Linked DNA regions of Homo sapiens: regions 1, 3 and 4 are each linked to region 2. Evidence: promoter capture Hi-C in 16 types of primary human blood cells and fetal thymus (Javierre and others, 2016). All regions are on one chromosome and are shown on one strand. Each heading gives the region's core, a stretch centred on a gene start or on the middle of the fragment in contact. The rest is flanking DNA. Distances are from core to core; before and after follow the strand shown.

Region 1 (6,702 bases), core at 1,509-4,008, 390 kb before region 2:
CCCCTTTCTTTGACTAGGAAAGGGAACTCCCTGACCCCTTGTGCTCTTGAGTGAGGGAATGCCTCGCCCTGCTTTGGCTCGTGCATGGTGCGCTGCACCCACTGTCCTGCAACCACTCTCTGGCACTCCCTAGTGAGATGAACCCGGTACCTCAGATGGAAATGCAGAAATCACCCGTCTTCTGTGTCGCTCACACTGGGAGCTGTAGACTGGAGCTGTTCCTATTCGGCCATCTTGGCTCCATCCCCATTTTGGTGATTTTAAACTTTTTTCTCACAATGTTAACATTTTCACAATAAATATATAAATCATTTTCATATAAAATCAGATGGATTCTATAACGATTTTTTAAGTCATGCTTTTAGATGAAAATTCTGTTTTTTTGAAATTAGTATGGTTGTATCTCTTTACTTCCCGCCAACATTTGCTTCATATTTTTTTCTGCCTCTTTGTCTTTGACTCAGTTATCAATAGTAAGATTAAAAGACATGCTCTTTCTCAGTAGTTTCAAATGATGCAGGAGACAGAAGTAATACCAGTCAGGATGCAGTAGAGATGTTTCTCTTTAACCACTCCTTTCTCTAGTGAATAATAGAGCTACACAGTGAAGTGTTTTTCCTTTATTGTGTTAATATTTAAAGAAACAAAGAGTAAAGTGCCTAGAATTCTCATCCAAAAAGGTAGTTTCAAGCACTCTCACTTTGTCATTTTTATTAGGTTAGACATTCATAGAACCTGCATATGCATGTGAATTGGATTCAGCCCATTGACAATTGTTGCAGAATCTAGTGAACAGATTAGATTGCAACAACAGATAGCACCTGAGCATAAGCAATCCTACCTTTTCTGTGAGGTTGTGGTGGAGAGAGGGGGTGGAGGATTACAGGTTTAGACTATCAAGCTTCAAGATTTTGCAGAACATAAGGTATGGCAGGGTTTTCTTTGTTTGTTTGTTTGTTTGTTTTGTTTTGTTTTACTTCAGGATCCCTATATTTGTCTTTCTTTGCAACTTAGTTGCAAAGCAAGGTGGTAAATATTTTAAGATAAAACCTTACTCTTCAAAACATTATAATTATAGTCTCATGACACCAAGAAGATAGCAGCACAGAAGATCCCCAGCCTTCCTTCCTGCTCAGAAATACCAATTTAACAACTATTCATGGACAAAATGCCTTTATAAAACATTTGGGATCCAAGTAAAAGGTTCCAGCTCCTTGGTGTTGGGGTGATCAGACCCAACACCAGGCTGTGGGGGCTACGAAGTCTGGTGGAGTCAAAGGAATGAGAAAAGACAAGTTGAGAAATTGGCACCAGGGGACCACTGCTAGTATGGAGGCTGCGAAGGCCCCAAGCTCTGGAGGCCCAAGCTATTTATTGGTGATCAAACAAAGAAACAGGTGGTGAGGATGTGGGGGTTGAAAGGAAGTGGTGTATCAAGTGAATGAGCTATAGCTGTGATGGTTTAGCATTTTCTTTGAAGCATATGGCTACTTGAGATAATGGGAGTGCTAGAAGCAAGGAGCCAGCAAGTCTAGATACATTCCCAAGGCCACCAGGGGTTTTAGACTCTGCACTGTGGACTTGTTCCAAGCCCTGCCTTGGCTTCTCTCCCAACACTCAGCTTTTCTCCTAACACTTGGGGGACTTAAGACTGCAAAAAGCCTCATTGAGAAGGAAATCCTATTCCCTTATTAACAGACTTGTCCATCCAGGGCCCCAATAGAAGGCTAGTCAACAGAACTCAAACAGCTCCACCTCCTGCAAACTAGCAGTGACCATGCACACTAGCAGACCTGTTGGTGATCCTCTCCATCCACAAACTCCAAGGCAACCTGCCCACCTGCAGACCCCTACTGCAGCACCCACCACCCACCCACCACTACAACAATTAGCCAAATATACCTGCAGATACTGACAGCAGGCAGACCCCACCTGCAGACAATGGCAATAGGCCTGCTCAAATGTGTACCCCAGCAGCAGGTCCTCCATGTGCGGACACCTGCAGCAAGCACACACATGCAGCAAACCTACCCACAGATTTCAGCAATAGGCCCACCTGTGGTCACCAACAGCGGGTTGTCTGCTGACCCTATCAGCCAACCTACCCAGAATCTCTGATCTGGCTGCTTGTACAAATGCAGACTCACCAATGCAAGCATACAAGGATCATAAAGAATCAGGCAAACATGACACCATGAAATAAATCTAATAAAGCTCCAGTAACCAAACCAAAAGAAATGAACCAAACCAAACCACAATCTGCTCAACAGATAATTTCAGATAATCATCTTAAAGAAGCTCAACAAGATACAGGAGAACACAGAAAGGCAATGAAAAAATATCAGGAAAACAATACATAAACAAAATTAGAAGTATAACAAAGAAATAAAAACTATATAAAAAAAAAAACCCACAAAAATCCTGGAACTGAAGACCTCAAGGACTGAATTGAAAACTGAATAGAGCACTTCAACAGGAGATTCAATCAAGTGGAAGAAAGAATTAGCAAATTCATAGACAGGTCATTTGAAATTATCCAATCAGAGGAACAAAAAGAAAAAAAGAATAAAAAAGAGTAAAGAAAGCCTATGGGACTTATGGGACACGATGAAGCAAACCTTTCTGTGTATTATGGGTGTCCCAGAAGTAGAAGAGAGAGAAAAGGGGGTAGAATTTAAAGTAATTTAAAAAATTTAAAGAAATAGTAACTTTAAACTTCCCAAATTTAGGGAAGGAAACAGATATCTAGATTCATGAAGCCCAAAATTTCCCAAATAGGACAAACCCAAAGAGGTCTATACTGAACACATTATAATTAGTTTGTCCAAAGTCAAATACAAAGAAAAAAAATTGAAAGCAGCAGGAGAAAACTGACTTGTCACATAAAAGAGAACCTCCAAAAGACTATCACGAGATTTCTCAGTGGAAACCCTGCAGACCAGGAGAGAATGAAATGATATATTCAAAGTACTGAAAGAAAAAAAAAAAAAACCCACCTGTCAATCAGGAATTCTGTACCCAGCAATGTGTCTTTTATTAGTGAAGGAGAGATAAAAACTATCCCAGACAAACATATACTGAGGGAGTTTGTCACCACTAGGTCCACCTTGCAAGAAGTGCTAAAGGAAGTTCTCGAGGTTGAAATAAAAAGAGGTTAAACAGAAACACAAATGCACACAAAAGTATAAGTTTCACTGGTAAAAGTAATTATAAAGACAAGTAGAGTTTTCCTTTCCCCAAGATGGCTGTCTAGAGACATTGGACACCAGTTCTCCTCAGAACAAAGAACCAAAATTGCAGTTGAATAATCATGGTCTGAGTGGAATACTGAGGAATGAGTGACATGACCTATTGGGGAACCCACAGGAAAAAGCTGTGGTGCTGAAAAAGAAGACAGCAAGAGTTTTGCAGAGATTGACTTCCAAGGAACATAGAGTCCCATGGAGAGGGTAGGAGGGGAAGTTGCTCCCCTCACTCCTGTGGCAGACTATGGACTGCTGAACTTGTTGGAGAAACCCTCTGCACCTGTGAGCCCAGGCATTGCTGTCAGTGGCAATTTGGGAACTTCTTTAGGGCAGAGCATTGGGTGGCCAGCTCATGCAGGCACACTCGCTCTCCCCCAAAACCTGAGTTGAAGTGGCAGGTGTCATACTGGTTATGCACCCATTGTGGGTCTGTTCTTCCCAAGGAATCCCAGCCCTTGTGTTTCTGCATCACTAGATCCTCCATGAACATTCCCCAGAACCCACTTAGACTGCAGCAACCACAGGGGACGGGTGGGACCCTGGGGAGCTATGGAATTCCTAGAAGTCTAGCTCTTAGGAGAAGGGAGAGTGTCTGTGCCAACGTACTCCTTTGGATAAAAGAAACCAGTTCATTTGCTCTCCTCTGCCTAAGAGCTCCCCACGTGTGAGAAGAGGCTGGCTGTGCCCCTCCCAGCAGAGACACAGGCATGGTTCTGGGGTCTGAAGGGGAGGAGTGTGGTTCTGCACCAGTAGGCAGGTGACACTGGTGCCTGGGAATAAACATGGAAAGGGAGTCTTCTCCTACCCCCTCACTCAATGCTCCAGATAGACCGTTGGCTGTCCCTACTGGGAGCTGGCACAAGTGCACCTGGGGATGGCTTTTGAGGGCTCCTGGGGGCAGCTGCACTCCCATTGATGGGGTGCCTGCTGGCCAAGCCTTGCACGAAGGGCAGAGTTTATCCTCCTCCCCATATGGAGCAGCAGCATTCCCATAGCAGAATGCAGATGAATATCAGAGCTGCTGAGGGAAGAGGTTCTATCCCAAGGCCATTTTGGTGGTAGCCACAGGACGGGTGTTTTCTGCAGACCTCCATCACACTGCAGCCTGGAGATGAAGGACAATGTCTATCTGAACTGAAGGTCACAAGCTCCGGGACAAGGGTGTTTTAGGAAAGTGGATTGCCTTCCTGCCTTCCCAGGATGTGGAGCTGGTATACTCCTTCCCACTCTGGTGGAGACATCAGTGCCTTTCACCATGAGCTCCCATTTCCACTCCCATCAAGGCAGTTGCTTCTGCTCATAATTGGGGTTTCCCAGGGTGAGCTTGGTCGTTTAGTGCCCCTCAGTTTTGTGTCCCCCTCCAAAGCTTTGTGTTCCCTTCAGGGAATCAGGCCATCCACAGACCAGCCAACTGCCTGTGACAACAGAGATCCCCTCCCAGAAAACAAAGACCAAGTACCCATCAGCTTATGCCACAGCCAGCTTTTATTGGGATGCAGATTGAATTGCACAACCAAATAAAAAACAGGCTGACAGAGGGTATAGTGCTGGGGAATGAGATAAACTTTCAGAGACTTCCACATTCCCAGCCCCTCAGAAGGTAGTATTCCTGCTCATATGCCCAATACATTGCTACTACAATCAGCATAATAAAGCCACCACACAAAAGCTATCTATACAGCATAATAAAGCCACCACACAAAAGCTATCTATGACCAAGGAACTCATACAGAGCTGTGACCCACGGAAGGCACCCAAAATTGAAGCCAAATGATCACACACAACATACAGTCACACCTTCAAAGGGGGAAAAAATCCCATTCAAATGAGAGTAAGTTCAAAAGTAAGAAGTAACGGGTTCTCTAGATGAGAAGAAATCAGCATAAGCACTCTGGAAGTACGAAAAACCAGTATTTTGACATGCCCAAAGGATCACACCAGCTCCCTAGCAATGGATCCTAACCAATATAAAAATTTTGAAATAACAAATAAAGAATTTAAGATATGAGTTGTAAGGAAGCTCAATGAGATACAAGAGAAAGTTGAAAACTAACATAAGGAAATCAGAAAAATAATTCAGGATATTAATGAAAAATTTACAAAAGAGATAGAGATTAAAAAACAAAAACCAAATAGAACTTCTAGAAATAAAAATTTATTGAAGGAACTATAAAATATAGTTGAAACTTTTAGCAAAAGACTAGACCAAGCAGAAGAAATAATTTCAGAGCCTGAAGGCCAGTCATTTGAATTAACCTAGTCAGACAGAAATACAGAAAAAATAAATTTTTAAAAATGAACAAAGACTTTGAAAAATATAGAATTACATAAAGTTACCAAATATACAATATATAGACATTCCTGAGGGAGAAGAAAAAAAATTAAAAGCTTGGAAAACCTATTTGAGGGAATAATTCAGGAAAACTTCCCTGGTCTTGCTAGAGAATTAGACATCCAGATAGGAGATGCTCAGAGAACACCTGGAAGATGCTTTACAAGAGAAACCTCATAAAGGCATATCGTCATCAGACTATCCAAAGTCAATGTGAAGGAAAACATCCTAAAAGCAGCAAGAGAGAAATGTCTAATCTATACAGGAAAACCCAACAGACTAACAATGGACTTCTTAGCAGAAACCTTACAAGCCAGAAGAGATTGGGGTCTTATGTTTAATCTACTTAAACAAAAATCCTGCCAGCCAAGAATTTTGTATCCTGCTAAACTAAGCTGCATAAATGAAGGAGAAATAAAGTTTTTCCCATACAACAAATGCAAAGGGAATTTGTCACCACAAGACCAGCACTACAAGAAATGCTTAAAGTTCTAAACATGGAAATGAATGGACAATACTCCTCATCATAAAAGCACATTAAAGTGAAAAACTCACAGATTATATAAAGCAATTACATAATTGAGACTAAAAAGCAACTGGGTAACAATTATCATGACAGGAACAAAACATCACATATCAATATTAACCTTGATAATAAATGGAGTAAATGTTCCACTTAAAAGATACAGATTGGTGCTGGGTATGATGGCTTACACTTGTAATCTCAGAACTTCGGTAGGCTGAGGCAGGAGAATTGCTTGAGACCAGGAGTTTGAGACCAGCGTGGGCAACAGAGTGAGACCCCATCTCTGTAAAAAATTAAAAAGAGAAATTAGCCAGGTGTGATCATGCTCACCTGTAAAGAGGCTGAGGCAGGACAATCACTTGAGCCCAGGAGTTTGAGGCTGCAGTGAGCTATAAATGCATTATGGCACTCTAGCCTGGGTGACAGAGTGAGACTGTCTCAAAAAAAAAAAAAATACATACAGACTAAAAGATTGGATAAAAGTAGCATCAGCTCAGGGGTCCTAACTAGTTACAAGAACAGTGCACAAGACAAACACCAGCTAAGATGGCAGGGAGAACAAGCCTGAACAAGGCAAGGCAGAGGTCTGCTAAGGGAAA
Region 2 (6,738 bases), core at 2,199-4,698:
AAATTAAAAAGAGTAAAGAATAAGTCACCCAAATTAAAAACAAGCAAACCCCAAGAAAAGACTATAGTTAACAATTATATCCCTGTGTGTCAATCTGAAAATATGGCTGGGGTATGTAAGAGAAAACACTTATTGTAGAAGAGTATCTGCAGTATGGTCTTATTGATGCAAAGTCAGTGTGTGTGTGTGCGTGTGTGTGTGTGTGTGTGTATGTGCACGTGTGTTTTCCTGAGCCTATTTCATTGGAGATAGTTGCTGCCATCTGCCAGTTTCAATTCCTCCAAGGCGCAGAATGGGAAAAACTGTCTCCCTCACCTCAAAGCCTTAATAAAACATGACGTGTTTCTCTGGGGTTTGGAAGACTCAAAATGCTCAGGGTAGTGAGGTGAGAGGGCTGTGTTGATGAAAATTAAAATTTGTCATTTCTAGGTCATAGAAAGATTTATTGTGTTATGCTTTTTAAGAATGCAGTGACATTTATTAGATGTGCCAATGTAATATAGATATGTGTGTAAATATACAGCACACAATATATGTGTGTACATATATTTATAATACATACACACATAATTGCTTAGTATGCTGGCTGCATCAAGGAAAAGAAGCGTCAACTTCCATTCCCTTAATGTGGCTGAGCTGCCCCTTAGATTCTGACAGTAGAAGTGATCTTGAAATATATCCATAATTAGTAAATCTATTTATGCATCTCTTTGTCTCCAGGTACAGGTAGATTAAGCACATCCCTCTGACTCTGGGAAGGTTCTAGCAGAGGACTGAGCTGGAAAGAGGATTTCTGGGTAATTTTGGCAATCCATGTAACCCCTGTCAGCCTCAGTTGACTGAAGTATGGAATGGGGATTTACTTACTCTCTGTACGCCTCATAGAGTGCTGCAATGATCCAAAACGACGGGAAAGCTCTAGCAGCCACAGACAGCCTCTTCCCACTGCTAGCACCCAGTGCAGCTGGAGAAAGGGGAAGGAAAGAGTCCCTTGAGCACTGAGAGAGAGGTCTCGAATCTGCAGAGACCCCCGTGGGCTGTTCTTAGGGCGGTGCATGGCTCCCACTCTGTGCCCCTTCAGTCTTAAAAAGCGTCGTCTTCCTGGTTTCAGTCACACTGGGTGAGGAGGGGGTCCTGCCACAGGGAGTGGGACTCGGAGTGCAGTGAGACTGTGGACTCTGAGGTGGCTTCGCGTGGGCACCCAGGGCCTGGCAGTGTGAAGAGGATGTCCCCGCAGAGGGAGGTGGCCCAGCATGGGGGTTGAAGCCCCTAGGAGAGTGAGAAGGGCACTGAAGGAGAGCGGACCGGCCAGGGCAATGGGGCCTGAGCAGGGGGAGGAGGCTGTGGACGCGGCAGAGTGGCCTGGCTTGGACACTCGGAACTCAGCAGGGACTGCAGCAATTCTTAGTGCTAAGAATGACAAGCTTGTGTTTCTTAACTACATTCTTTAGATTTGCTGGTGCCATGTGCTGGTAAACTGTACCTGTCTCAACATCAAACTCGGATAGTGTCCCTTGCAGCACGCAGGCGAGTGCATGGTTCCCCCTGGCGGTCGGTGGCAAGCCTCACTCACGAGTCCACATTGCTACAAATCAATCAAAGGGCAACAAAGAGCGTGATGAGGGATGGGATCTTTACAATAGTCCCAAAGTGCGTCCCCACAACATAGTCACTGATTAAAATCAGAAAAAGAATAAATTTGCAGTGGCAAATTGTGACACCCACCACCTTAATTAAATGATCAACACGAACATCATCAGTCTTGGGGCAAACTAAAGTCACATGCTGCCGGGTAGAATGGGAGAAGAGCGCAGCCGGGTGTCGATGGTATTTCTGCCGAAGTTACAGAACCTGAATCTAACTGTAAGGCAATACAAACAAACAAACAAACAAAGTGAGGGGTATTTTACACAGTAACTCCCCTGTGATCTTCACACTGTGTTCAGGTCATGAAGGTGAAGGGAAGACAGAGGGACTTTGTGGGTTTCAGGACCCTGGAGAAGCGTGACAACCGAATAAGGCACATGGCTCAGAAACGGATCCTTTGCTATAAAGGACACTATTGGGGCATTGTGTACATTTTGCATAGGGCCTGAAGGCTATTTGGAGTTATTGTATCCGTGTTTATTTCTTGATTACGGTTATAATGCAAAAATGCCTTTGCGTGAAAAACACATTAAAGTATTGGGGTGTTGGGGTTTCATGTTGACAACCTACTCTCATAGGTTCAGGGGAAAAAAAAGTCGTACGATACTGGCAATTTTTCTGTAATTTTGATGTTGTTTCAGAATAATAAAATGAAAAATGAAACTGACCAAGGCCACCTGGTTAATAAGTGACAGCTCTGGGTCAAAACTCAGGTGTGCCTTTCCCCTAAAGCCATGCCCTGCCCTGCCAACCACAAGGCCCTGCACATCCAAGTTGGCCTCTGTTCCTGCTCATCACCTGCAAAACAGCCCTGCCTCCCCACAGCCAAGTTGCTGGAGCTTCGCCCCACCTGCCCCCAACCTGCACTGGCCTGACTCCCCCATTCCACACCTGGCCCAGCACCCACCACATGGTGTGGCAGACAGCACTGGGGCAGCTGAAAGACTCCATGCTACAAATTGGCACTGCCCAGCTTCCTGCTCCTGGGAGTGGGGTCCGTTGTCTGAGCTTCCGCTCCCTGGAAGAGCTCCAAACTCCTCAATGGTTTGGGATTTTTCAAACCAATTCCAAATAAGCCAGGGGAGATTTTCCTGTCTGGGTTCCCATCATTACCACCTCCACAGTTGGAGATTCCCTCCTAATCCAGATGCTCAAACCAGGACCCTAACAACTAGGGCTTCATATATCACTGGGACACTTAGCATAATCACCATTGCAGGTTGCCAGACATCACCCAAAGTGATGTTCTACCAAAGACAGAAACTGCAGCTCTCCCATGACCTTCCAGGTGCTGCCCTGACTCCTCCAGCTGAACCTGCTAGGGCAGAGGGAAGTGGAACGTGCAGCATATTTGCCTGCCACTCTGTCCATGTGCCCACCAACTCGGCTGCAGGCTCCAGAGACACTGGCTGGGGGTCCTGGGGCTCAGAGCTGAGCAAGGTTACAGGGCAGACAGGTTGGCCTGGATCAACCTGACCAACCTCAGCTGAAGCAGTGACTTCTTCATTGTCTGAAACTAAACCAGGAACCCAGTGGAGCTCCCTGAGTGCAGAGTGGGTGACCTTAGCCAGTGAGGCATTTCTCTTCTTACAGACCTGGTATTTTTCTTTACCAGGTTCTGTGCTCCCCTCAAGGGTCCTAAGTATTCCTGCAGCCTGAGTGTTCTGCAGGGAAATGTGCTGTGTAAACACTATGCCTATTTCCTGCTTGGAGAACAGGTTTTGTGGTAGAGCTCTCAGGGGTGGGGAAGAAGCCTGGCAGCCCACATGCTATAAATTCTGTTGTCCACCTTTATGCTCTAACTTGGAGGCAGAGACCCAAGCAGCTGGAGGCTCTGTGTGTGGGTGAGTTTAGCCACATCCCCTAGGTGTTCTCCAGCTTGAGGATCGCAGGCAGAGAGGACCAGCCCAGCAGCCACAGGCCTGACCAAGGCCCAGGTTGGGAAGGAGGGCAACTCCCCATTTTCCACTGGGAGGTGTTTCACAGCATGGTCAACATGGATGACCTACAAAGACCCTCATGCTTTGATATCTTCCTTGGCCAGATCCATCCCTACCAGGGACTCAGCAGGGCCTAAGCAGGGGGAGTGGGAGAACAGACCCCAAGAGGAAGGAAGACCTCATCACTGACTGTGAGAGGGTCATCACCCCCCGATGATCACCTTGAAGGGTCCAGGCTGTGGGCCCTATTCATCTCTTTTCATTCTCAGGTCGCTGATTTCTTGGAGCCTGAAAAGAAGGTAACTGGGCATATGAGGGACAGATGGAGTGAGTCAGTGAGTGAGTGACCTCATCCTTCCTTCTAACAGCCTGGGAGGGACAGGGCAGGTTTTCTGCAGAGCATGGAAGATTCAGCTGAAATCAGAGAGGTGAAGCCAGTTTCCCAGGGTAACATAGTGAGGCACTGAAAGAAAGGAGACTGCACTGGAGCCCAGGTCCCTGGGCTCCCCAGAGCTCCTTACTCTTCCTCCTCCTCAGCAGTCTTGAGACCCCACAACCTCCAGCCGGAGGCCTGAAGCATGAGGCCATGCCAGGTGCCAGGTGATGCTTGGAATTTTCCCGGGTGCTTCGGGTCTTCCCAGCACTCTGGTCTCGCCCGCCCTGCCTCTCGGGCTCTGCCCAGCTTCCTGAGTCCTGACAGAGCACAGTGGGGGAGATGTTGGCAGAGGTGGCAGATGGGCTCACGGCCATCCCTCCGGCAGGAGCAGCGACTGGACCCAGAGCCATGTGGCTGTGCCCTCTGGCCCTCACCCTCATCTTGATGGCAGCCTCTGGTGCTGCGTGCGAAGTGAAGGACGTTTGTGTTGGAAGCCCTGGTATCCCCGGCACTCCTGGATCCCACGGCCTGCCAGGCAGGGACGGGAGAGATGGTGTCAAAGGAGACCCTGGCCCTCCAGGTACTGTGCTGCAGACCCCACCCTCAGCTGAGGGACACAGACCCCTTTTCAGGAGGCCCATCTGTCCAGGCCCCTAGGCTGTGGGCCATAGTGAGCTGGGGGCTATAGTAAGCTGGGTGGGACTTCAGTCTGCAGGGGTGGTGGGTTCCTGGGGCCCTTATGATGGCGCATCCTGGAGAGTCTGTCCTCATAGTGCCCACGGAGTGATAGCTGAGCCAGCCCCGGTGATAATGGGCATCGAGTCTCACTAGCTCCAACCAGTTGTGGGTGACAGATCCTACACATCCATGTCTCTTTTCTCTGCAGGCCCCATGGGTCCGCCTGGAGAAACACCATGTCCTCCTGGGAATAATGGGCTGCCTGGAGCCCCTGGTGTCCCTGGAGAGCGTGGAGAGAAGGGGGAGGCTGGCGAGAGAGGCCCTCCAGGTGAGCAGGGCGGGGCAGGTGGGCAGTGGAAACATGGGCACAGCGACCTGAAGTCAGTTACACAGGGGTGATGGGGGTCAGACAAACCCTGCAGGTTCCCCAAGGGCATTTGGCTCAACCTAAGTAAGAGAATATGAATTTGAGGGAGAAAGCCGAGGTGTCTGGGGAGTGTGGTCACAATTCAGAGAAGGGCAGGTGTGGGAAGTCCTCCGTGCCTCATGACCGCTGATGGGGACACACTGAGTCAGGTGTGGGACGAGGGACAGCACTGGGAGGCAGGGGAGGCATGTCCTGGGATGGAGGCCCTGGGGGCAGTCTGAAGGGTGAATGCGGACGAGGCATCCAGGCAGATGGTGTGATCAGGAGCCCCACAGACAGAGGGGAACTTTGAAGCTCAGAGCGGTAAGCAAGTCCATCAGGGCAGTGCAGAGAGCATCATGCTTGCCCTTGGTGGAGGGTGCGGGAGAGGGACTTGCCCCACAGAGGCGGGCAGACAGAACCCCTCGAGGGACAGAGCAGGAAAGAGGACAAGGGGTGGGGGTCTCAGCAGGGGCAAGGCTTCACTAAAGAATAGGGGACCACGGGGTGTGGAGACACACTGGAATCTCGTGGACCCTCTGAGCCTAGGGTCTGGGTGGTGCCTAACAGCAATGAAAGGGCAGAGTTCCAGGATTGCAGATGGCAAAACGCCTGCGTGGCAGCAAGTGGGAGTCTTCACTGGCCTGCCCCTCCTTCTGTGTGGGGCACTCTCCACAGGGCTTCCAGCTCATCTAGATGAGGAGCTCCAAGCCACACTCCACGACTTCAGACATCAAATCCTGCAGACAAGGGGAGGTAAGGGGACCCCCTGGGCCTCACGGGGTAGGAGTTTCCCACAAATTCCCCTCATTCTCAGCACCACCTTCTAGAATAGAGATGACAAACAAGCGTGCACATGCAGGTGTTGGGGAAAGGAATGATGCTTGCTTTTCTGATGTCTTTGAATGGCCAAGAGGAGACAAGCAGACACAATTCACTCCCCATTTCATAAGAAAGCAAGTTCTCTGCCTGTCTTGCTTTCCACTGAATCCTAGGAAATTGCACCATTTCTGGCAATAAGTAATTGTTACTTAGATGAATGAATAAATGGAGGAGAGTCTAAAAGTGAATTTAGAAAACTGCAATTGGAAGAGGAAGAGAAGACACAGAGAGAGGCAGAGATGGAGAGACTGGGGAGAATCTGGTAGCAGAGACCCTAGGTGAGGGAGGTGGCTTAGAGACAAAGTGGTCAGTGGCCTGACCTGGACTCCTCTGCTCTCAGCCCTCAGTCTGCAGGGCTCCATAATGACAGTAGGAGAGAAGGTCTTCTCCAGCAATGGGCAGTCCATCACTTTTGATGCCATTCAGGAGGCATGTGCCAGAGCAGGCGGCCGCATTGCTGTCCCAAGGAATCCAGAGGAAAATGAGGCCATTGCAAGCTTCGTGAAGAAGTACAACACATATGCCTATGTAGGCCTGACTGAGGGTCCCAGCCCTGGAGACTTCCGCTACTCAGATGGGACCCCTGTAAACTACACCAACTGGTACCGAGGGGAGCCTGCAGGTCGGGGAAAAGAGCAGTGTGTGGAGATGTACACAGATGGGCAGTGGAATGACAGGAACTGCCTGTACTCCCGACTGACCATCTGTGAGTTCTGAGAGGCATTTAGGCCATGGGACAGGGAGGATCCTGTCTGGCCTTCAGTTTCCATCCCCAGGATCCACTTGGTCTGTGAGATGCTAGAACTCCC
Region 3 (6,204 bases), core at 2,428-4,927, 440 kb before region 2:
TATATATTTAAATTACTATACAATTCAACATCTTTAAGTATATTCTAAAGGTTGTACAATCATTACCACTATCTAAACTCAGAACATATTCTTTACTCCAAAAATAAATCCTGTACCTATTAGCAGCCACTCCACATCCACATTCCTCTCCTTCCCTGGCAACAGCACTCAAGCCATCCTCCCTGGCTTTCTTTCATGTTCTGTAGAGACAAGGTCTTGCTATGTTGCCCAGACTGGTCTCGAACTCCTGGACTCAAGATATCCCTCTGCCTTGACCTCCCAAAGTGTGGGGATTACAGGCATGGGCTACTGTACCCGGCCTTGGACATTTCATATAAATGGAATGACACAATATGTGGCCTTTTGTTTTTGGCTTCATTCACTTAGCTTGCTATTTTCAATGGTCATCCATATTGTATTGTACTTTATTCCTTTTTAAAAATTTTTAATTATACTTTAAGTTCTGGGACACATGTGCAGGACCTGCAGGTTTGTTACATAGGTATACATGTGCCATGGTTGTTTGCTGCACCCATCAACCCGTCATCTGTATTAGGTATTTCTCCTGATGCTATCCCTCCCCATGTCAACCTCCCCCAATGTACTTTATTCCTTTTAATGTTCTTTTTGTTCATCCATTCCTCAGTTGATGAATATTTGGGTTATTTTCACCTTTTGGCTATTATGAATAATGCTACTATGAAGACTAGTGTACAAGCTTTTGTGTCATCATAGGTTTACAGTTTGCTTTTTTTTTTTTTTTTTTGAGACAGAGTCTTGCTCTATCTTGCCCAGGCTGGAGTGCAGTGATGTGATCTCGGCTCATTGCAGCCTCAGCCTCCCGGGTTCAAGCGATTCTCCTGCCTCAGCCTCCTGAGTAGCTGGGATTACAGGCGCCTGGCACAACACCTGGCTAATTTTGTATTTTTAATAGAAATGAGATTTCACCATGTTGGCCAGGCTGGTCTCGAACTCCTGACCTCAGGTGATCTGCCCGCCTCAGCCTCCCAAAGTGCTGGGATTACAGGCATGAGCCACCATGCCCAGCTTGTTTAGTTTTCTTAGGTATGTATCTACTAGGGGAAGTGCTGGGTTATACGGTAACTTTATATTTAACCTTTTTGAGGAACTCAAAATTGTTTTCCACCTTCAGCTTCACCATTCTATATTCTCACCAGAGATGTATAAGCACTTCAGTTTCTTTATATCCTTGCCAACACATTGTTTTAAAAAAAACTTATAGTCACTCTAGTGAGTGGTGCCATGGTGTCATTTGTGGGTTTTTTTTTTTTTGTTTTTTTTTTGAGATGGGGTCTTGCTGTGTTAGCCAGGTTAGTCTTGAACTCCTGACCTCAAGCAATCCTCCTGCCTCGGCTAGGAATACAAGTGTGAGCCACTGTGCCAGGCCTCATTTTGTGGTTTTGGTGTGCATTTTCTTAGTGTTTAATGATGTTGACTATCTTTTAATGTGCTTATTGGCTTTTGTGTTTCTTATTTCCAGAAAAAATTTTCATTTTGACCATTTTAATTTAATTAATTAATTAATTTAGACAGAGTCTCGCTCTGTTGCCCAGGCTGGAGTGCAGTGACACAAACTCGGCTCACTGCAACCTCCACCTCCTGGTTCAAATGACTCTCATGTCTTGGCCTCCCAAATAGCTGGGATTACAGGCATGTGCCACCATGCCCAGCTAATTTTTGTATTTTTTTAGTAGAGACAGGGTTTCACCATGTTGGCCAGGCTGGTCTCAAACTCCTGACCTCAAGTGATCCACCCACCTCAGCCTCCCAAAATGCTGGGATTACACACGCATGAGCCACTGGGTCTGGCCTGTCATTTTGCCCATTTTTAAATTGCGCTGTTTGTGTTTTCATTGTTGAGTTTTAACCATTCTTTGTATATTCTGCATATTAAATCCATAACAGATAAATGATTTATCAATATTTTCTCCCGTACCATGTGATGACTTTTAACTTTCTTGACAGTGTTCTTTGATGCACAATAGTTTTTAATTCTGATGAAGCCAATTTATCTAGTTTTTGTTTCGTTACTTCTGCTTTAGGTATCATGTCTAAGAAACTGTTGCCTAATCTAAGGTCAGGTAAGCTTACTTCTGATGGTTTCATAGTTTTGACTTGTATGCTTAGGCCTTCCTTCCCTTTTGAATTAATTTTTGTATGTAACTTGAGATAGATATTCAACTTCATTCTTTTCCTTGTGGATAGCCAGTTGTTCTAATACCTTTTCTTGTAAAGACTATACTTTTCCCATTGAATTTGTCTTGGCATTGGTGTTGAACTCAATGGATCATAGATGTATGGGTTTATTTCTGGACTCTAAATTCTATTCAGCTGATTTATAAGTTTTGTCTTATGTCAGTACCACACTTTCTTTCTTTCTTTCTTTTTTTTTTTTTTTTTTTTTTTGAGACAGAGTCTCGCTGTGTCACCCAAGCTGGAGTGCAGTGGCACAATCTTGGCTCACTGCAACCTCCACCTCCCGGGTTCAAGCCATTCTCCTGCCTCAGCCTCCTGCATACCTGGGACTACAGGCCCCTGCCACCACACCTGGCTAATTTTTTGTATTTTTTTTAGTAGAGACGGGGTTTCACTGTGTTAGCGAGGATGGTCTCGATCTCCTGACCTCGTGATCTGCCCGCCTCGGCCTCCCAAAGTGCTGGGATTAGAAGCGTGAGCCATGCGCCCAGCCCACACTTTCTTGATTGTTATATCTTTGTAGTAAGTTTTGAATTTGGGAAGCGTAAGTCCTCCAATATTGTACTTCTTTTTCGAGATTAATTTGGCTATTCTGGGTCCATTGCATTTCTAAATGAATCTTAGGTTCAGCTTGTAAATTTCTGCAAAAAGGCTGTTGAAATTTTGATAGGAAGTGAATTGAATCTGTTGATCTCTTTTGGGAGTATTAGTTGATCTCTTTTTGGGAGTTTAAGTCTTCCAATCCATAAACATGGGATATTTCTCCATTTATTTAGATCTTTTATATTTTCTTTTAATAACATTTTGAAGTTTTCAGTGTGCATATGTTGAATCTTTTTGTTAAATATATTTCTAAGTATTTTATTCTTTTTGATGATATTGTGTATAGGTTTATTTTATTTTCATTTTTGAATTGTTCATTGCCAGTATACAGAAATAAAACTGATTGTTTATTTCTTTTTTTAAAATAGAGACAGGGTTTCACCATGTTGCCCAGGCTGGTCTCAAACTCCTGGACTCAAGCAATCTGCCCACCCGGGCCTCCCAAAATGCTGGGATTACAGGAGTCAGCTGCCACACCTGGCCTGATTTTTAAAATTTTTGATCTTGCATTCTACAACCTCATTTACTTGCTATAACAGTCTTTAGATTCCTTTGGATTTTCTCTATGAGAGGTCATGTCATCTGAAAATTTTCACTTTTTCCTTTCCAATATAACACCTTTACTTTCATATTCTTGCCCAATTGCAGTTAGCAATTTTGCTTCTCTTACATCAGCTAGGTTCTGGTAAAATCCCTGTTGGGAAGGCTCTGGTGAAATAGGTTCTTTCGAGGGCATCCCTTAAGAAGAAGAGAATGCTCTGAGCATATTTCATAATGTCTACTTTTCCTCTCATCCTACATAAAGCACAAGGAGAATTTTCTCTGATCTTTACTTTGAGAACCTGGTAGGACTCTTGGGACTAAAGCCAACAAAGGCTGGACTATCCTGGCATTTTTAACTCTCAAGCCTGGCCATACTGTGCTTCCAGCAACTCTTGATTGCAGTGCAGCTTTTCCTATTCTGCCAATGGTTTCTGCTAGTCAGTTTCTGCTCCTTGTTTTGATTCTCTGCATCTTCCTGTCTGTCTTCAATTTAAAGGGCAGCAGTTTGCCTGTGACCTCACTTCTCTCATAAATCTAGGAAGAGTTATTGATTTTCAGTTTAACTGGTTTTTTTTTTATGTTTTGTGGATGGGAGTGATGACCTCCAAGCATCTTACATGCCAGATCAGAAACTGGAAATCCAATAAATATATTATGGCAACATTTAAAAAACTAAAAATTTGTGCAAAAATTCACGATGAACAAGATATCGAAGTTTTAAATAATATCAGGATCTAACTCTAACTTGCACAAGTGAAGCCACTTCACTGGTAAATCATATCCTGGCACTGTTTTTCATAAAACTTTATTTATAAACAACAAATATCCATTGTGTTGGCTATAGTTTGTCAATTTCATTCTTTATAAACTGTTAGATTAAAATACTTTTTATCTTCATTACTGGGTCTCTTTCTGCATTCCAGGTGAGTTTTCACTTGCCTTACCTAGTTCTGGACCTTCCCTCTGATTCCATTTCATACAAAAGTCAGCCCTACAATGGCTTCATGGCCCTTTATTTTTATTTATTTATTTTATTTTTATTATTATTTTTGAGATGAAGTCTTGCTCTGTTGCCCAGGCTGGAGTGCAGTGACGCTATCTCAGCTCACTGCAACTCTGTTCCCGGGTTCGAGTGATTCTCCTGCCTCAGCCTCCCCAGTAGCTGGGATTACAGGCACGTGCCAGTAGGCCAAGCTAATTTTTGTATTTTTAGTAGAGATGGCTTTTTGCCATGTCAGTCAGGCTGAGGTTGAACTCCCGACCTCAGGTGATCCACCACCTCGGCCTCCCAAGGTGCTGGGATTTCAGGCATGAGCCACCATGCTTGGCCCCATGGCCCTTCATGATTTGACCTCCATCTACTCTGTAACCTCGCTTCCTCCTTCCCTGCATGCACTCGCTCTACTCCACTCATAGTCTCTGCCTTGCTATTTCTATTTCTGGGGCATGCCTATCTTGCTCAGGGCTTTTACGTCAGTGCTTGACACTTTGGGCCTGATCCATACCTATTCATTCTAATTAATCCAGTCAACAAATATTCATTGTGTGCTTACTTTTGTAAGGCATTATTTTAGGCTCTGAGACAATATCAGTAAACAAGATAGACAAAATCCAACAATCTCTGGAGCTTTCAATTTAGTGTGTTTGGGAAGGGGTGAGAGGGTCAGAAAGTAATCATAAGTGAAATAGAAATTATTACTGAGAAAATATAGCATTGTGAAAAAAGGAAATAAAATAAGGGGGATTAGGAATTTTTGGAGAATTGCAGCTTTAAATAGGTAGATGAAAGTAAGCCTATCTGAAAAGGCCACCTGGCAAAGGCTGAGAGGGGGATGAAGGAGTGATTCAAGGGATATGGGGATCATGAGAGGTCAGGAAGCTTTGCAGGCAGAGGTTGGAATGCCTTGAGGTGAGAGGGAGCCTGAGATGTTTAAGAAAAAGCAAGGAGGCCAATACCACTAGATGGTGCCTATGTGAGGCGGAGGGGTGGACAGTAGAAAATGATGTCAGAGAGGAAAGGCAGGAGGAGTACAGGTTAGATAAGACATGTAGGCTATTGAAAATAAACTTTATTGAAATATAGTGCACATACCCAAAAGACCATGTATCATACATAGTCAGTTTAATAAATTGTCACAAAACAACCAAACTCATGGAACAAACATTCAGATAAAGAAAGATAATATTACCTGACTTCAGGAGCCTACTTTTGGTTCCCTTTAAGGCACTGATACCCTTCCCCCAGTAGCTCATATCCTTACTTTTAACCACAGCATAGCTGGGCATGGTGGCTCACGCCTGTAATCCCAGCACTTTGGGAGGCCGAGGCGGGTGGATCACTTGAGGTCAGGAGTTCAAGACCAGGCTGGCCAACATGGTAAAACCCAGTCTCTACTAAAAACACACAAAAAATTTAGCTGTGCATGGCAGCACATGCCTGTAATCCCAGCTACTGGGGAAGCTGAGGCAGGAGAATCGCTTAAACTCGGGAGGCGGAGGTTGCAGTGAGCCGAGATTGTGCCACTGCACTCCAGCCTGGGTGACAGAGTAAGACTCCATCTCAAAATAAAATAAAATAAATTAACCACAGCAAAGATTAGTTTTGTCTGTTTTATATAAAATATTAATGGAATTATACAGTATTCTCATTTATTTACTCCTAATTTTAAAGATAAATTCTGTAATCCAGGGCTTGGCAAACTTTCCCTACAAACAACAAAAAGTAAACATTTTGGGCATTGGGCAAAGTGGAGTTTCAAGTACTCAGCTCTGTCATTTCGGCTTAAAAGCAGCCATAGACAATAGGTAAATAAATGGGTGTGGCTAGTGTCCCAAGAAAAT
Region 4 (6,975 bases), core at 2,890-5,389, 410 kb before region 2:
AAATTGCAACCGATTTTTGCACTTTGGTTTTGTATCCTGAAACTTTACCGAATTTATTTATTCTAACAGTTTTTTGGTGGAGTCTTTAGGGTTTAAATATAAGATAATGTAATCTGCAGACAGACAATTTTACTTCTTTCTTTCTTTCTTTCTTTCATTTGGGTGCCTTTTCTTTCTTTTTATTGCCTAATTGAGCTGGCTAGGATTTCCAGTATTTTGATAAATAGAAGTAACAAGAGTGTACATCCTTGTCTTGTTTCTAATCTTCAAGGAAAACATTTTAGAATTTCACCATTGAGAATGATGTTACCTGTAGATTTGTCATATAAGGCCTTTATTTTGTTGAGGTACATTCATTCTATACCTTTTTTTTTTTTTTTTTTTTTTTTTTGAGACAGGGTGTCACTCTGCTGCCCAGGCTAGAGTGCAGTGGCACAATCTTGACTCACTGCAGCCTCAACCTCCCAGGCACAAGTGATCCTCCCACCTCAGCCTCCCAAGTAGCTGAGACTACAGGCATGTGCCACCACACCTGGCTAATTTTTGTAATTTTTGTAGAGATGGGGTTTCATCATGTTGCCCATGCTGGTGTTGAACTCCTGAACTCAAGTGATCCACCCACGTTGGCCTCCCAAAGTGCTAGGATTACAGGCATGAGCCACTGCACCCAGCATATGCCTAATTTGTTGTGATGAATGTAATATCTCTTATGATGAAAGAATGTTTAATTTTATCAAATACTTTTTCTGCATCTATTGAGATGATCACATGGATATTTCCTTCACACTATTGTTGTGATGTATTACATTTGTTGATTTGCATGTGTTGAACCATCCTTGCACCCCTATGTTAGGTCCCATAGATTATACCAAACAGCATTGCATCTTGGACAGATGGTAACTAATCTACTGTAACTACAAATTATGGCAAAGCTATATCATCTGATAAAAACCAAAAGGCAAAAAATGGGACATCCTCCTTTTCACTTTAAAGAAAAGGTAAACAGACTGCAAGTGGTTAGGCTCACCTGTTCTTGAGTGCTACTGTCAGGGTAAGTCAAGAAATTCTTGAACTCAGACAAAGATTGCACTGCTTAATAAGCTGGGAGAAGGGTGGTGCTGGAGAACAGGTTAAATGAAAGATGTGAGGTATCATGCAAGATCTCTTTACTGAAAAATAAAACTTTCCTCAAAATTGAAGATAATGAAAGAAAGAGAGGAAGAAAGAAAGGTGGAAAAGAAAGGAAAAAAAAGAAGTAAATCTGAAGACCTACTTCATGTATAAATGGAAAAAAATCTGTAACAACTCCTTAGTAGGCTGTGGATATCACATCTGTGTTGTAAAGCAATGACTGGATGAAAATTGCTACATTTAAATAATTCCAGCTGGCAAGAGGGCTCTTTCACCACAGATACCTGAAAAACACAAGTTCCTTATATTACCATGAGGACAAGAAAAACTAGCCAGATTGATTTGTAAATGAGACTGATTACCTGTGAAACTAGATACATCAAATAGATTACAATGTTGCTTTGTGCATGTGTGAGCACTGTGTGTGTGTATGTGTGTGTTGTTGTTGTTTGTTTATGATTGAGTATCAGAAAAGCTGCTTGCTTGAACTAAATGAAACATTATGAGTATTAATAGAAGTAATGTCCTGTGGAACTCTAGGATTCTTCACAGCTAGTAGGTTGCTCTCTGGCCTCAGGTTTCAGCTGGGGCTTGTTTGTGAGCAGAGCACCAATACAGTGAGTCCTGTGGTTGGGAGGGATTCCACAGGGTAAAAAGATCTTGATTGAGGGTCACTAATTGCAGAGACTTTTGCTAAAGAATAAATCCTTGGCACCCAGCCAGGAACTAAGCTGAGTTTGGCTCCAGAGGTGAAATGGCCACGTCTCACACCTATAGTTTCTTCCCCACTGTATTAGTCTGTTTTCATGCTGCTGATAAAGACATATGCAAGACTGGGAAGAAAAAGAGGCTTAATTGGATTTACAGTTCCACGTGTCTGGGGAGGCCTCAGAATTATGGTGGGAGGAGAAAGGCACTTCTTACATGGCTGCCATCAAGAGAAAATGAGGAAGAAGGAAAAGCAGAAACCCTTGATAAATCCACCAGATCTCATGAGACTTATACACTATCATGAGAAAACCATGGGAAAGACCAGCCCTCATGATTCAATTACCTCCTCCTGGGTCCCTCCCACAACATGTGGGAATTCTGGGAGATACAATTCAACTTGAGATTTGGGTGGGGACACAGCCAAACCATATCACCCACTCTGAGAGGATGGTTGCCAGGCAGCACCCAATGACCCATGCCACTTGAACTAGAAGTGGCCTGCTAGTCCCATAACTTGGTTTTGAAGACTTCTTGTCCCCAGTTCTCAGAAGGGGGAGGTGGAAAGCTTCATTATGCTCTTGTTGAATCCTCAGGGTTTTTCCCTTTAGGTGCAGATGGCTTTACTGAGAAAAGCCCTTTTTTTCCAGCCTGGACTTGGACTCTGGCAGCAGTGGCAGTGGTGGTGCCATCACTCTTCTGGCACCAGACTTCCTTCAACAGCCATTTTATCACTCACCCTCCCAAACTCTGTGGTTTCCCAGAGCAGTAGATATGATTGACTCAGTAGCCAGGGACTTCTGGGAGCATGCAGATGTGTTTTTGCACAGGCTGTCAGGTGATGGGATAGGATCCACTGTGCAAGCCTGGATCTCAGGCTTCTTTGGGCTGGCTGACCAGGACCACAAAACCAGCTGAACTCCAGCTTTCAGCACCATTTATTGCCTTTGGCAATTCAAGTTTCCCCAAATCTTAAAGTCCTCATGCTACTGGAGTCACTCTTTCCTTTCAGAACCAAAGGCCATCACTTTGATTCTTTTGCCAAAAGAGAAACTTGTTTTTCTTAAGGCCACTGTATCCAGAACTCTTGTTTCACAAGGTATAGCCCACCACTTCTGTGTTGGGAACAGGCCCCCCAAAATCTGGCCATAAACTGGCCCCAAAACTGGCCATAAACAAAATCTCTGCAGCACTGTAACATGTTCATGATAACCATAACACCCACGCTGGAAGGTTGTGGGTTTACTGGAATGAGGGCAAGGAACACCTGGCCCACCCAGGGTGGAAAACCGCTTAAAGGCATTCTTAAGCCACAAACAATAGCATGAGCAATCTGTGCTTTAAGGGCATGTTCCTGCTGCAGATGACTAGCCAGACCCACCTCTTTATTTGGGCCCATGCCTTCCTTTCCCATAAAGGATACTTTTAGTTAATCGAATATCTATACAAACAATGCTAATGACTGGCTTGCTGTTAATAAATACGTGGTTAAATCTCTGTTCAGGGCTCTCAGCTCTGAAGGCTGTGAGACCCCTGATTTCCCACTTTACAATTCTGTTTCTGTGTGTGTGGGTTTAATTCCTCTAGTGCCGCTGGGTTAGGGTCTCCCCGACTGAGCTGGTCTCAGCAAGTGGTGTCCATCATGGGGACTCAAATCCAGGTCGAAGGGTCGCCGGAGCAACAGTTGGAGAATGTGGAACTAAGCTGGAGGACACCTGAGTACTCTTAAAGCAATCCCCGTGGTGAGTAAGAAGGGGAGCTTGGAAGCATCAGGGTAACAATGGGACAAGTGTGGGGTCTGGTTCATTCCACCTAGGAACTTTTTCACACTGATGAGGAGGAGGAAGGAGAGTATAACAAAGTAACAGAAGAGGTTACAGAGCAGTTTTATTTACCAGCTGAAGCTAAAGTGGCAAAGGAGGGAGAGGTTCATCCCTACCCTTCTGCACCCCCTCCTTATTATTTTGAAGAAAATGACCTTCCAGATCTTTCTTTTCCGGAGGACACTGGGCAAAAAGTAGTTGCCCCAGTGACTGTTCGAGCAGCACCTAGAGCGACTGCTCTTAGTTCTAGTCAGGCAGGAATTCAGCAAGCTAGATGAGAGAGTGATTTAGAGGCTTGGTGATTCCCTGTTGGAATACACCCCCCCAGATCAACAGGGAAATATTATAGCTACATTTGAGCCCTTTCCTTTTAAATTACTCAGAGTAGCCAGATCCACCCCTTTATTTCGGCCCATCCCTTTGTTTCCCATAAGGGATACTTTTAGTTAATCGAATGTCTATAGAAACAATGCTAATTAATGCTCTGAAGGCTGTGAGACCCCTGATTTCCCACTTTACACCTCTATATTTCTGTGTGTGTATGTTTAATTCCTCTAGCACTGCTGGGTTAGAGGTCTCCCTGACCGAGCTGGTCTCGGCATTTCTGCCAAAGAAAAGACTCCTCCTCTTTCAACATTAGCTGTAGGCACATCTGTATATATACAAACAAGAATAGAAGGGTGTGATGAGGAGAGGTGACGGGATTGTTGAAGTAGATATAGACACAGAGAGATACACTTTATATGCATTTAGAGATAGATGGAGAGGTATATATACATAGAGATATATTTTGTATGTATCTTAAAATTGGCCAATATCAGATTTTTTTAATGAACCAGAGAACTATGATCACATCACTCTTGAAAATATAGGCATGACTAGAAATACTAGACTGTCTCATCTCTGATGGCATATAAAAAATATCTGGGGGTGGCTGGGTGTGGTGGCTCACACCTGTAATCCCAAAACTTTGGGAGGCTGAGGCGGGCAGATCATGAGGTCAGGAGATCGAGAAACCCCGTCTCTACTAAAAATACAAAAAAAAATTAGCTGGGCGTGGTGGCAGGTGCCTGTAGTCCCAGCTACTCGGGAGGCGGAGGCAGGAGAATGGCGTCAACTCAGGAGGCAGAGCTTGCAGTGAGCCGAGATCGTGCCACTGCACTGCAGCCTGGGCAACAGCGCAAGACTCTGTCTCAGAAAAAAAATAAATAAATAAAAATAAAAAATATCTGGGGGTATAATTGAGAATAAAACAACTAACGGCATAGTCCTAATGCTGTCAAATAAATTTTTCAGCTTATTTAAGGGGAATCTGTGATGCTACTATTTGTGTGTGTGTGGGTGTGTGTCTGTCTGTCTGTGAAACACACAGAGATCCTAATTTCACAGTTAACGTAATCAGCATTATGTGGAAAAGTATCCTCTACTTGGAGTAATCCACCAGTAAAAAATGAGTTTAGAATTTTCTGGCACTTGTGCTCTGCATACACAAACCAAAGAAACCCTTTGGCATAATGCATCCAGAGTCATCCCAAGAAGTTCACTGCATGACACTGTGGTGTTATTCCAGACTGGCACCTTTGTAGATGCAAGCTATGAACTAGAGCTGGGTACCCTGTCCTTGCTCTCACATGTATATATGAAAGGAGACAATGCAAAGGACTAATGGAATTGTAAAAAAGATGGGACAGAGGGTATATTGATAAAATAACACAAGGAAATTAACATTTCGTTTTCTAAGACTTTTTTTTTTTTTTTTTTTTGAGACAGAGTCTTGCTCTGTCGCCTAGGCTGGAGTGCAGTGGCGGGATCCCGGCTCACTGCAAATTCTCCCTCCCAGGTTCAAGCAGTTCTCCTGCCTAAGCCTCCTGAGTAGCTGGGATTACAGGCACCCATCACTGCGCCTGGCTAATTTTTGTATTTTTAGTAGAGATGGGGTTTCACCATGTTGGCCAGGCTGGTCTTGAACTCCTGACATTGTGATTCACCTGCCTCGGCCTCCCAAAGTGCTGGGATTACAGATGTAAGCCACTGCGCCTGGCCTTCAAAGATATTTTTAATGTACCAGTGGAAACTCCCCTACAGCTTGAAGATCCATGATGTATCCTTGGAAGTTACAAAAATAGAAAAGAAAAAACACAAATGAAGAAACACAACCAAGAGGCTTGAACTTGATGTACAATTTATTTATAATAAAAAGGGAAGCTTCATGATATGCATGTTAATACTAACAAAAATGCTAACAAAGTGGGAATATTAATGTTCATAGACTTTGTTTAATGATTTCATGGAGGGGCTATTGTAACTTTTACTGTCATTTTCTTTCTGTTTCAATGTTTAAAGGGAAACTCACACATGATAACAGCTCAGTATTATGGATGGATATAAGCTCATTGAGTCAATCCTTGAGAGATGGAGAGTGAAGTAACTTCCAGTTCCCATTTGGAACTCTCAGAGCTAGGATAAAAACTCCTTGTCATGAATTCACAGGATGAGAAAATCTAGCATCCTCCCATGTTCTGCCCATTTGCCCGCCTTCAGGTTTGACTTTTGAACTTGCCAAAAGGGAGAAAAGTCTGGACAAGTCCCCTTTTCACCTTTTCTCATTACCTTGGTTTGGTTCCAGTTTGTACGTGGTACAGACTTCCAAGGAAGTGATGGTCATGGAGAGGAGATCATATTTGCCATGAAAATGTTTTTGTTATTCAGGATTCAGGGAAATCATTCACAGCCTGGTTCCCATGCTTTCTCTAGGGGCAATATGGAGCTTAGAAACAATTATCTAGGTCATGAAGTGAGGATGGAAGTTAGGTGCTATCCACAGGACTGAGTCAAAATGCTCCGTGTGTGTGTGTGTGTGTGTGTGTCTGTGTGTGTGTTTTGAGACAGAGTCTCACACTGTCGCCCAGGCTGGAGTGCAGTGGTGTGATCTCTGCTCACTGCAACCTCCGCCTCCTGGGTTCAAGTGATTCTCCTGCCTCAGCCTCCTGAGTAGCTGGGATTACAGGTGCCCACCACCATGCCTGGCTAATTTTTTGTATTTTTAGTAGAGACGGGGTTTCACTATGTTGGTCAGGCTGGTCTTGAACTCCTGACCTTGTGACCCGCCTGCCTTGGCCTCCCAAAGGTCTGGGATTACAGGTGTGAGCCACAGTGCCCAGCCCTCTTTGTGTTTTAAAGTGCCTGTGGCTTCTTCTTGCCTTAGTTTTGCTCTCCAATTTATTGTGTTTCTTGTTCCCCCATCCTTTGCATTATACTAACTTTGCATCCAAGAGAGGAGGCCTGAATTGGTGTAATAAGACTGATACCTTTC

What was found. The method cuts DNA at HindIII sites, captures the fragments that hold promoters and counts their contacts. A CHiCAGO score of 5 or more calls a contact.
Region 1: a fragment that was not itself captured here is called in contact with the fragment with the promoter of SFTPA2 in region 2 in 4 of 17 cell types (M2 macrophages, megakaryocytes, endothelial precursors and 1 more); the score reaches 5.7 in M2 macrophages.
Region 3: a fragment that was not itself captured here is called in contact with the fragment with the promoter of SFTPA2 in region 2 in 5 of 17 cell types (M1 macrophages, erythroblasts, M0 macrophages and 2 more); the score reaches 9.6 in M1 macrophages.
Region 4: a fragment that was not itself captured here is called in contact with the fragment with the promoter of SFTPA2 in region 2 in 4 of 17 cell types (M2 macrophages, erythroblasts, M1 macrophages and 1 more); the score reaches 8.2 in M2 macrophages.

The regions. Positions count from the first base shown.
Region 1 is chr10:79,949,712-79,956,413 of GRCh38, reverse strand. It overlaps a transcript of SFTPD not described here. Among named protein-coding and RNA genes, the nearest start is that of SFTPD, 4.0 kb to the right of the region's middle. The HindIII fragment of the contact is 3,710 bases long and covers 904-4,613 here.
Region 2 is chr10:79,557,117-79,563,854 of GRCh38, reverse strand. It overlaps SFTPA2 (surfactant protein A2), which reads left to right and starts at 3,448. Exons shown (of 6, transcript NM_001098668.4): 1 at 3,448-3,491; 2 at 3,857-3,886; 3 at 4,349-4,543; 4 at 4,850-4,969; 5 at 5,726-5,803; 6 at 6,270-6,738. The coding sequence starts at 4,372. The coding sequence ends at 6,646. RefSeq lists enhancers at 1,254-1,767, 6,566-6,738. The HindIII fragment of the contact is 5,002 bases long and covers 1,427-6,428 here.
Region 3 is chr10:79,999,313-80,005,516 of GRCh38, reverse strand. No RefSeq gene overlaps it. Among named protein-coding and RNA genes, the nearest start is that of SFTPD, 53 kb to the right of the region's middle. The HindIII fragment of the contact is 3,135 bases long and covers 2,110-5,244 here.
Region 4 is chr10:79,972,068-79,979,042 of GRCh38, reverse strand. It overlaps a transcript of SFTPD not described here. Among named protein-coding and RNA genes, the nearest start is that of SFTPD, 26 kb to the right of the region's middle. The HindIII fragment of the contact is 3,460 bases long and covers 2,410-5,869 here.